2 separate regions of the Homo sapiens genome follow, and region 2 is linked to region 1. Evidence: promoter capture Hi-C in 16 types of primary human blood cells and fetal thymus (Javierre and others, 2016). All regions are on one chromosome and are shown on one strand. The core of a region is centred on a gene start or on the middle of the fragment in contact, and the rest is flanking DNA. Distances in the headings are between cores, read along the strand shown. Region 1 holds the start of DSP (desmoplakin). Region 2 overlaps SSR1 (signal sequence receptor subunit 1).

Region 1 (5,890 bases), core at 1-2,500:
TGGATCAAAGCAGACATGCGGCCGGCGCTCTGCGATCCAAGGCACACTGGGGTCTTTCATCCGGTGTTTTTAAAAAGGAGGAAACAAAAGGCTCAGAGGCAGGGCCCCAGGTGCGCTCGCCCGCGGGGGCTGCGGCGCGGACGACCGAAGGTAACAGGCACGTCCCGGCCGAACTTCGAGACCCGGGCCCGGCAGCCGCCCCGGCGGGGAAGTTTCGTTTCCCGGACAGGGGAAGCCGAAGCGCCTCCTCGGGACAGGACCCCGCGCCGCCGGGACGCGCAGCCTTGATACAAACGTCCTTGGGTGGCCGAGGAGTCCAGGAGTCGTTGCAGTCGTGGTCTCGGGGTTACTGGGGATTGGGGGTGAGCCGGTAGAGACTGCGGAGCCCCGAGCACCACTCGGCCACCAGACAGGACCGGGGCCCCGCTCCTTTCCTCTTTTACTTTGATTACGGTTGGAGAGGTTGGGTTTTGTGGTCGCAGCCCCACCTCGCCTGACCTCCCATTCGCGGGCTGGGACAAAGGCGGCTGCAGCCGTGTCCAGCAGGCAGGGGACAGCCCCGCGCGGGCCCGACGCCCCCTCTGACCACCCGCCCGGGCTCGCGGGAGGGGAGAAAGGTACGACCGAGTCCCTGTTCGCAGGACAGGGGCCAACCTGTCCCCGCACGCGTCAGGACACCCGGTCCTGCTCCCAGCGCGGCCGGGAAGTTCTTTCGGGACCTGGGGCAAAAAAACCTTTCCACCTTCGGGACCCGAGTCTCCCAGTCGTCCAGAGGAGGACGGTCCCTCCCTGTCCCGCGAGCCCCGCAGCCCGCGCTCTCCGGGCAGGTACCCACCAGTAGCCGTCCGAGTTCTGGTCGGTGATCACGCCGCGCCGAGAATAGTACATCCTGCTGGTGCCCCCGCCGCCGCTGGTCACCTCGTAGCGCAGGTCCGGGCCAGACTCGGCGCGGATCATGCGGCCCAGAGTGTTGATCCGCGGGTGGGAGCCTCCGTTGCAGCTCATGTCGGCGGGCAATCGGGAGAGCGGCTCAGCGCCGAGGCATAAGCGAGGCGGGCCGGCGCGGAGAAAGCGGAGGGGGCCAAGGATAGGCGGACGGCCGGGGAACCGGGCGGGAGTGCGGAAGGCTCGCGAGGTCGCTGCTCGCTACCTGGGCCCTCCCGAGGCCGCTGCGAGCGCGGAGACGGCGACGGGCCGGGGGCAGGAGCGGGAGGAAAGCTGTGGCTCGGAGGGCGGCAAGGGCGCAGAGGAGCTGCGTCGGAGCTGGGTGTTGGTGTTGGTCGGCGGCGGAGCGAGTCTCCTCCCCGCTGGCACTGGGCGCCTAGGCCACACCTGGCCGGTTTCTTCCCAGGGTGGGGTGCGGCCGCCGCGCCTTCCCCGCCCCCCCGCGGGTGTCACCGACGCGCTCCGGCCGCCCCTCCCCACCTGCGCCCGCCGCCCGCGACTCCGCCCTGCGCCACCGAGGCCTGAGTAACACCGGGCGGGGCGGGGGCGGGGTCCCCGAGACCCAAGCGCCCTGGGCGAAGCCACCGCGGGGAGGACCTGCGCTCGCGGGGGCTGCTGCGCTCTGCGCTGGGGCCTCTCGGGCTGGGAATGCGTGGCCCGGCTTTTGAGGATTTCCTCGGTCCCCGGGCGGAAATAGCTGGAATGGAGGGGCCTCTCGATTGGAGACTTACTGGTCAAATATTTACTTTTGTTGATCACTGGAAACGCTACCTACCACGCATTGACTAGGACCACAGTGAGGAGGGAACGCTTTAGATGATAGAGTTTTGTTTGGGGGCTTTTTTTTGTTTTGTTTTATTCCAGGAATTCAGGAAATTGCCCCAGAAGTCCGATTTCTGATGTGTAAAACCTTTTTTTACAGAAAACCACGACTTCCTGGAAAAGTCTTCACCGTAAATATTAATCTCTTTGGCATGAAGAGGAAAACACTGCAGCTAATTTTTCATGGGATAACAAAAATATAAACTGCAATTTCTTTTATTTTTTCCCTTTCGATGGTCTTTTTAAACGAGGAGTAAAGATTTCAACGCCAGGTCCATTTTCCAAATTTTGTACCAGAACCTTGAGGATGCTTGTCTCTCGCGCGCTTCTCCGCAGACCGAACCCTCTCCGGAACTCAGAGCTGTTCACCCAAGTCAGCGGAGGAGGCCTCCTGGGACTTGAGCCTGAGGGTGGCGAAGAACCCTAGGCAGAGATCATCAACTTGGTACCGATGAGTGACGCGGAGCTTGAACATTCCAGCGACTTGCTCCAGGGCCACTCCCAGTTAAGAGGCTGAGTGTTAACTGCAAGAGGCTGAGTGTTAACTACGCCGTTGGCTCCAGGAACCGAACCGGGTTTGGATACAGACCCAGTCACACCATCCATGAAAAGCTGTTTCTATAATATGAAAAATTGTTAAATGACGCTTTAGTAAAAGCCATTTAAAGATCTTTTCTAATAAATTTTTCATCTTTCCAAACAATGCCGCTAATTACCTTCTGATACAGTGCGTTTCCAAAATGTTTATGAACTGAAAACAAAAATAAAAAACTACATTTTTATGTTGTAAAGGGAGTGGGGGGGACTTTCTAAAATTTGTCGTATTATAGCACTTCTCATGACAACTTGACCCTTTAGGCATAATTTTTGACAAAATGTCTTGTTCTTTTTCTTTTTACAGCTGAACGTCTTAAATTCAAGGAGTAAACACATATAATGAGATAAAAGTTTATCACTGTTAGCACAACCAATAATTTGCATCGTAGTCTCAATTTCCTCGAATCTTTAATAAAACCAAAGTGGTCAAGTGTTTAAATGATTATACAGATTGAGTACCCCTTATCCAAAATGCTTGGGACCAGAAATATTTTGGATTCTGGATTTTCTTGGATTTTGCAATAGTTGCATAGACGTAACGAGAGATCTTTGGGGATGGAACTCAAGCCTAAACATGAAATTTATTTATGTTTTCTATATGCCTTATACACATGGCCTGAAGGTAATTTTATACAATATTTTAGATAATTTTGTGCATGAAACAAAGTTTTGACTGCACTTTGACTGCAAGTCATCACATGAGGTCAGGTGTGGAATTCGCCACTTGTGGTCATCATGTCAGTGCTCAGAAAGTTTGGATTTGGGAGCATTTTGGATTTCAGATTTTCAGATTAGGGATGCTCAACCTGTACAAACACTGATCTATAGACAAGACGGTGGTTTTTCTCAAACAGAATCAATGGCTGGAAGTCAGCCTCTGCACAAACAGCCCATAATATCCATTGGTGGAGGAGAGAAAGACATGCATGGAGGGAAAATGTCAGTGCATAATGTACAACATTTCATTTAGGATGTTTTCCCTCTATGCATCTCATTTGTTCAGCAAATAATTATAACCTAGGATATGGAAATACTCTGCAACATACAAAGATAAATAGGGTCCAGTCACTGCCCTTAAATATATTATAGTAAAACTTTGATTTAAGAAATTCAGGGGCCCGTGCGGTGGCTCATGCCTGTAATCCCAGCACTTTGGGAGGCAGAGGCGGGTGGATCACTTGAGGTCAGGAGTTCGAGACCAGCCTGGCCAACATGATGAAACCCCATCTCTACTAAAAATACAAAAATTAGCTGGGTGTGGTGGCAGGCGCCTGTAATCCTAGCTGTTTGGGAGGCAAAGGCACGAGTATCACTTGAATCCAGGAGGTGGAGATTATATTGAGCAGAGATCGTGTCATTGCACTGCAGCCCAGGTAACAGAGCAAGACTCTGTCTCAAAAAAAAAAAAAAAAAAAAAATTCAGGGATTATTCTTCCCTAATGTGTAATAAAGAGGCTACACAATTGCACGGTAGAATTATCCTTTTAAAAAAAACCCACATATCTATTAACCACCCCCCCAGTGGTAACAAAAGCTCTTGTTAGCCAAGGGTCCCCTTACGGTCATAGGAACCAGGCTCCACACAGACCCAAACACCACCCAGACTCACAAAACTGTTCAATCTGCAGGCAAAACAGAGGAGGAGGCGAAGAGCCCACGCCACCAATCACACCTCTGGCTGCGTTGCTTCCTCACCCATCTTACTGCTTCCTGGGCTTTTCCAGGCATCCCCAAGAACACGAACGGCTTCCAGCTACCAAACATGCCTGCTCTAGGAAGACAGTGGCTTTCATTTATCTTTCTCTAAGGGTGATAAAGAAAGATAAGAGGATAAAATAAACAGATTGACATGCCCGACAGATGGAACACCCCCCACCTCAACACACACCCACACACATGCACATACACACACACACACATCAGTTGTCCAGGTTGGCTCATCACACAGTGAAGAGCGAGGATAACTTGCCCATAGTTATAATCTTAGTGCTACAATTTACTTATGCAAGAGCTCAATTTCTTCATGTGTATAATGGAAATAACACTTGCTCTGCCAACCTTCCAAATCCACAGTGAGGGTCAAATGAGATAAAATACGTGAACATTCTTGAACACTGTGAAACATATAAAGCTTAAGGTACCACCTGTTAAGCCAAAAGTTCTTTGCTGGATGCGAAATTTTAACCGTTAATGTTCCTGTCTTTATCCCACATGTAAATCAGTAAACCTCCCTCTTGGACACATTTAAGATGCATTCATTTAGAAAGCAGTTATTGAACATCTACCATGTTACACAACAGATTCAATGCTAGACACATGAAGATGAATAAAGCATGACTCTTTTTCTGCAGGATATCAAAGTCTGCAGTAGTAAAACAAATAATTACAATACAACATTAAGTATGCTATAATGAAGGTATATTTATAGAATTTTGAAAGCGCAGCAAAGAGGTTTAAAAGTAGCTTGTTTTCTTACAACTTGGTTTAAAAAATCAGAATCCAAAGTCTGGCAGAGTCTTCACTGGCTGACCTAAGGTCAGCTATTTTTTCCCTGCCACTCATAGATAGCTCCCCTTGTACTGATAAAACAGATCACTGACAGGCAACTTTCTCTCTGGCTGACCTTAGAAATCACCTTGCAGTTAGGAAAGACGAATCAGTCATATTCAGAGCAGATTTTTAAAAGAAAACGACACTTTGATTTCAGTGAGATTAAGAAGAATCATTTACTTGCTCAAAATCCCATGGGAACTCTCTATATCTTTGTGTTGGTAAATGATACCTCTTCATCACAAGAAGATTTATAGCCCATGAGTTAAAATAACTGTTCTGCCTAACAGAGGAGTAGTTCTGGGGTTTTTGTTTTGTTTTGTTTTGTTTGAGACAGAGTCTCACACTTGTCGCCCAGCCTGGAGTGCAGTGGCATGATCTTGGCTCACTACAACCTCTGCCTTCTGAGCTCAAGTCATCCTCCTGCCTCAGCCTCCCCAGTAGCTGAGACTATAGGCGCACACCACCACACTGGACTAATTTTTGTATTTTTTGTAGATACAGGATTTCACCTTGTTGCCCAAGCTGATCTGGAACTCCTGGGCTCGAGCAATCCACCCACCTTGGCCTCCCAAAGTGCTGGGATTACCGGCATGAACCACAGTGCCCGGCCAAGGAGTAGTATTTTAATAAGTCAAAATTACAGGCAGAAGCTAGGATTGGAACCATAATGTGAAGGAAAAGAAAATGCCTGTTAAAATGTCAGACAATTAAAATCTTAATAATAAAATGGATATGTATATTTTACTCTTTCTTTTCTCTTCCATTTGTCTGAATAAATTAGAATCCTCCAGAAATAATGAATCTAGGATCTGAATTATCACAAAAATAAGATTGGTCTCTCCTAATTAAAATTGTCAAAATGAAGAAAGCTGTTTGACAAAGCTCGTTTCAAAAATAGGAAAATGTTTGTAAAATATATACATTAACCCCAAACTATCTTTGGTTTACTTGGTTTAAGTGTCATTCAGGAACA
Region 2 (5,890 bases), core at 1,198-3,697, 250 kb after region 1:
AATAAGCTCTTTCTCTTTAAAAGAGAAATACTTTGTGTTTAAATGTTAATTTCTAAAACTCGCTTTGCCTCATTGTCATAATGGTTGGAATTTTTGCTGTAAATTTGTATATTAGGTATAACTGCATCTCCATTTTTCTTCTATTTAAATGAAACTATTTTTAAGTTATCTCTCCATGTACTTAGGTTCTAACTTACGGATTATATAATTAATACTGTTTCTTATGTAGATAAACTGAGGTTTGTTGGTTTCTTGGGTTTTTTTTTAAAGCAAGGCTAAATGAGTCATTTTTACTTTCTAGCAGTTTTGCTGTAAATACTCTAGGGAGAAAGTTTGAAGTTCTTAAATTGAGGTGGTTAGCTTAATGAGATTTTATGGTTTCGTTTTGTTTTGTCTGTGCCAACTGTTTAATTGTATTTAGCTTACGATGCAGAAACTGCCTGCATGTAACATATCAGCAGTTATCCTGAATTTTGTTGAATATAGAAATAAATTTATTCTTTGATTACAATTTGATTCCTAAAGGGAAATAAAGTCATTGTATAAATAGATACTCTTATGTGGTCCACCAGTGGTACATAACATGAACCTTTATAGCAAGGGGAAAGGTCTTTAAAGCCTGAAAATAAATGTGATGAAGATTTATTCTTTATCATCAGTACTAGACATGATTTTCTCCTTCCCTTTAATAAAGTATTTGAGTAGAAGTATGTTCTAGGAAGACTAGAAGAGAATATAACTTGTTTACCAAGATATTTAAATTAAGTAATTTGATAGGTGTTTTAAAAATTAGAGTAAACAGCTGGTCATGATAGTATGTGCCTATAGTCCCAGCTACTTGGGAGGCTCAGGCAGGAGGATTGCTTGAGCCCAGGAGTTCCAGGCAGCCTGGGCAACATAGCAAGACCTCAACTCTTTTTTAAAAAATATTAAGTAAATGGTGTAACGGAACTCCTTTAAAATATGTCTTTATGTTCTTTTAGCGTAAGAGACCCATACAGAAAGTAGAAATGGGTACATCAAGTCAGAATGATGTTGACATGAGTTGGATTCCTCAGGAAACATTGAATCAAATCAGTAAGTAGTCTTACAGACTTGGCTGGGAAGTTTTTCTCTTAAGTGGAAATTAAATACCTTAGATTTAGTTTAAAAAAAAAACTTTTTCAGTACTATTTAACATTCATCTTTTCCATTACTTGTGTAGAATCTAGTATAGTGATTAATTAAGACCTTAAAGGTTTATTCAGTGTGTAGTCTTCTTATGCTTTAATTTGGAAATTCTTCCAGATCTGCAGCTTATTTATGAATGTGTGAATTTTCTGTGTTCCTAATCCATTTCCTGTCTCTTTTCTTTCTGTTGCTTCAGTGCAGAGTAGAAGAGGTGAGGCATTTAATTTTTTTAATGGTTTTTGCTAGAGAATTGGGGGCTCTCAAATAGCACGTAAATATTTTACGTCAAGTTTAATGAGTAATGGAACAATTTTTCTTACTACATTTTATTAGAAAAACTACCCAGTATAACTTGAAAGAATAAACCTAAAATATTACCCGACAATTTATTTTACAGATACATTTCAGTTTTATTACATATTCAGTTAAAATACTAACCTTTATAAAAGAATATAGAAATGTTTCTTCAATTGTAGGACATTTTAAAAATGTTTATTATAAAACCAATGCAGCCTCATTATAAAAAATTAAATAGTACAGAAGTGAAAAAAATAAGTCAATTCCTGACTTCATTAATCCTATTTATTTATTTATTTATTTATTTATTTGAGATGGAATCTTGCTCTGTCGCCCAGGCTGGAGTGCAGTGGCATGGTCTTGGCTCACTGCTACCTCCGCCTCCTGGGTTCGAGTGATTCTCCTGCCTCAGCTTCCCAAGTAGCTGGGATTACAGGCACGTGCCACCACGCCCGGCTAATTTTTTTTGTATTTTTAGTAGAGACAGGGTTTCACCATGTTGGCCTGGCTGGCTTCGACCTCCTGACCTCAAGTGATCCGCTAGCCTCGGCCTCCCAAAGTCCTGGGATTACAGGCGTGAGCCACCACGCCCGGCCCTATTTTTCATAAATGGTATTATGTTTATATTTTCCATTAATTTCTATATATCTATAAGCATATACGCCTATTGTTTTTATGTGAGTATTTAGTTCAGATTGCATCATGCTGTCTACAACTTCAGTTTTCATACCTTGGATGTCTCTTTGTAGTAACTACATAAATATTTACTAAACTGTTTTTTTACAACTAGACAATATTATTTTATATATATATGTATGTCATGATAGATTAAACCTGTTCTGTATTGGAAGGATATTGGTTACTTTTATTTTTTCACTCCTACAGATGATACTGTAATGAATATTCTTATATATAAATTTATAGGATAACTTCTTAAAGGTAGAGTAACTAGGTCTAAGATTAAATACACTGAATTTTTATGGAAGGGACCCCATTTCCCTCCTAAAAGGGGAAAAAAAGGTAGTGCCAATTTATGTTCTCAACCATGCACAATATTGCCTATTTAATCTGTCGGTATGATATAAAATGAGTGTCTTACTGTTTCATTTGCATTTCTTTAAGAATGAGGTTCAGCTCCTTTATACATATTCATAGTTGACCCTTGAAAGACACAGGTTTGAACTGCTTGGGTTTCACTTTATATACAGATTTTTTCAATATAATTGACCCTCGGTATATTGGTGGGTTCCACATCTGCAACCAAAAGCAGATAAAAAATACAATATTTGGCCAGGCGTGGTGGTTCACACCTGTAATCCCAGCACTTTGGGAGGCTGAGGCAGGAGGATCGCCTGAGCCCAGGAGTTTGAGACTAGCCTTGGCAACATAGTGAGACCCCATCTCTACAAAGAATGAAAAAAAAATACATGTGTTGACGTGCGCCTAGGCTGAGGTGGGAGGATTGCTTGAGCCTGGTAGGTCCGTGATTGCTCCATGATGGTGCCACTGCACTCCAGCCTGGGTGACAGTGAGACTCTGTCTCAAAAGAAAAGGTGGGGGTGGGGAGGAAAGGAAATCATTGAGGAGCTAAGCTCTGAGGACGCAGAGGCATAAGAATGATATAATGGACTTTTGGGACTCGGGGAAGGGTAGGAGGGGGGTGAGGGATAAAAGACTACACATGGGTTATCGTATACACAGCTTGGGTGATGGATGCGCCAGAGTCTCAGAAGTCACCACTAAAGAACTTACCCATGTAGCCAAACACCATCTGTCCCTCAAAACTAGTGAAATAATAGTAAAATAAAATCTATTAAAAAAAAAAAAAGGAAATCACAGTTTTTGCAGGATACCAAACCTAAGTACAGGGAAGGCTTTTTGTATCCACCGGTTCCTCAGTGCTGACAGCGGAACTTCAGTATGCCTGGATTTGGGTGGGGTTGCCGTGGGGGAGTAGTCCTGGAACTAATTTCCTGCAGATAATAGAGATGACTGTATTGGCTAGGGTTTCTTTTCCTGTGAATTGGCTGTTCAGGTCCTTTTCCATTTTTAAATTGTTTTCTCTACTGCTTTCTGTGAGCTAGCTGTCTCTTTCTGTGAGCTAGCTGTCATATTGCAGTATAGCAGTTGCTTTATGAAAGGTGGGTTCAAAGTAACAAGAGCACAGGAGGAGGTCAGCACTAGACCCGAGTCTTGAAAGGTTGGGTGAGAAGGAGTCTTTAAGGTTTTATGAGCTATGCTAACAACTTTTGACTCCTAGGTCAAAGAGCCACTTTAAAGGAGAGGAATTACAATTGTGTTTTAAAAATTATGGTAAGCTGGGCATGGTGGTGTGCACATGTAGTCTCAGCTACTGGAAATGTTAAGGCAGGAGGATCGCTTGAGCCCAGAAGTTCGAATCCAGCCTCGGCCACATAGCAAGTCTCCCATCTCTAAGAGAAAAAAAAGAAAAGAAAGGAAAAATTAGGATCACTTTGTGGAGGACTGCAAAGGAGCTGCTGGAAGCAGGGTTACCAGTTCCGCGATTTCAGTAAAGCACAGAAGTCACTGGGGCCTAAGCAGAGGCAGTGGTGATAGGAGTAAAAGGGAGTAGAAGGATGTTTCACAGGTGGAGTAGATGGGGTTTTTTATGACTGGATGTGTTAGTGAGGGAGGAATGAAAGAGCATTCTGAACTTAGGCAACTGGGTGAAAGCTGATCCCATTAATGTCCCATAATCTAGGAAAGAGAAGCATGGAAGGATGAGGAGAGATGTGTTTGGATTAGCTATGCTGAGTGTGAAAAACCTTTGGGACTCCCAGATAAGGATGTCCAGGAAACATTTGAAAGTTCTGTTTCAGAGCACAAGTGAATCAAGATTTGGAAACATTGGGACATATAGCATCAGTGGTAGCTCAAGTCATGGGAGCTACACATCTGTTTTTTTTTCTTTTGAGACAGGATCTCACTCTGTCACCCAGGCTGGAGTGCAGTTACGTGATCATGGCTCACTGCATCCTCGACCTCCTGGGCTCAATCCGCCCACCTCAGCCTCCCAAATAACTGGGACTACAGACGCACACCACCATGCCCAGCTGAATTTTTATATTTGTTGTAGGGAGGGGGTTTCACCATGTTGCCCAGGCTGGTCTTGAACTTACGGGCTCAAGTGATCTGTCTACCTCAGCCGCCCAAAGTGCTGGGATTATAGGTGTGAGCCACCATGCCCAGCTCACATCTGCATATAACAGTGATGCTCACACAGATGGCTGTTAAATCCTAGAGTACTTTTTGAATCCTCAAAAGACTATGTTCAGCATACTGCTTATTTGAAAAAGTTTTATTTAGAGATTGGTTGTCTGTAAGGGCAGTAGTTCCTAGTCTAACCTTTTTGAAAATCTGATAAAAGTTGTAGACTTTCTTCATCAGAAACATTTGTCTGTACTCACAGCTCAGTTTTAGGTAAGTTGAAGAGCCCCTGAAACCATCTATTAGTAACCTACTTAATGAAGTAGTGAGAGCAGTTTTCTGGGTTTTTTTCACACTTGAAAAGTGAGGGCAGTTTTCCTGTGATATGTAGGCTCTGTCTTAATATTTTAGCCCTTAACTTTTTTTATTTTTCTGAGACACGGAGTCTTGCTCTGTTGCCCAGGCTGCAGTGCAGTGGTGTGATCTCGGCTCACTGCAACCTCCGGCCCCTCGGTTCAAGTGATTCTCCTGCCTCAGCCTTCCAAGTAGCTGAGATCACAGGCGTGTACTGCCACACCTGGCTAATTTTTATAGTTTAGTAGAGATGGGATTTCATCATGTTGGCCAGGCTGGGCTGGTCTTGAACTCCTGACCTCAAATGATCTGCCTGCCTCAGCCTCCCAAAGTGCTGGGATTACAGGCATGAGCCACTGTGCCTGGCCTTAGCCCTTAATCTTAAGGAGATTTCTTTGAAAAATGTGTAGTCTTTAAATATTCTTGGCTGGGCCAGGTGTGATAGTGTGTGCCTGTAATCCCAGCTACTTGGGAGGCTGAGGCACGAAAATCGCTTAAACCCAGGAGGTGGAGAGCGGAGATCGTGGCACTGCACTCCAGCCTGGGCGACAGAGTGAGACTCTGTCTCAAAAAAAATAAATATTCTTGATAAACATTTACTCATTTTCTAGGCATGGTGATCTCATAATTTGGGGGGTGAGAGATCTTTTGAACAGATTTTTTTTTTCCATTTTATGAAATGCTTACAGATAAGCCCCATGCTTTGGTGAAAATCACTTTCTAGCCCTTCACTTTTTTTAACTGGAAAAAATGATTTTTATTTCTAACTTATTCTACAGTATACAAACATACCAAAAAAAAACAATACGAAATCAATGAATGCAAAATCAATCAAAATCAATACAAAAACAATTATACAAGTAATTTCTAACTTATTCTAAAATCTTCCTAATATGTAAAG

What was found. Contacts are between HindIII fragments. The CHiCAGO score rates a contact against its expected background, and 5 or more counts as called.
Region 2: a fragment that was not itself captured here is called in contact with the fragment with the promoter of DSP in region 1 in 1 of 17 cell types (naive B cells); the score reaches 5.5 in naive B cells.

What each region holds. Positions count from the first base shown.
Region 1 is chr6:7,537,031-7,542,920 of GRCh38, reverse strand. DSP (desmoplakin) reads right to left here and starts at 1,250. Exons shown (of 24, transcript NM_004415.4): 1 at 836-1,250. The coding sequence starts at 1,005. It overlaps DSP-AS1 (DSP antisense RNA 1), which reads left to right. Exons shown (of 2, transcript NR_183331.1): 2 at 1,868-2,470. RefSeq lists an enhancer at 3,262-5,890. The HindIII fragment of the contact is 6,836 bases long and covers 1-4,497 here.
Region 2 is chr6:7,290,579-7,296,468 of GRCh38, reverse strand. SSR1 (signal sequence receptor subunit 1) reads left to right here. Exons shown (of 8, transcript NM_003144.5): 7 at 984-1,077. Among named protein-coding and RNA genes, the nearest start is that of SSR1, 20 kb to the left of the region's middle. The HindIII fragment of the contact is 8,134 bases long and covers 1-5,890 here.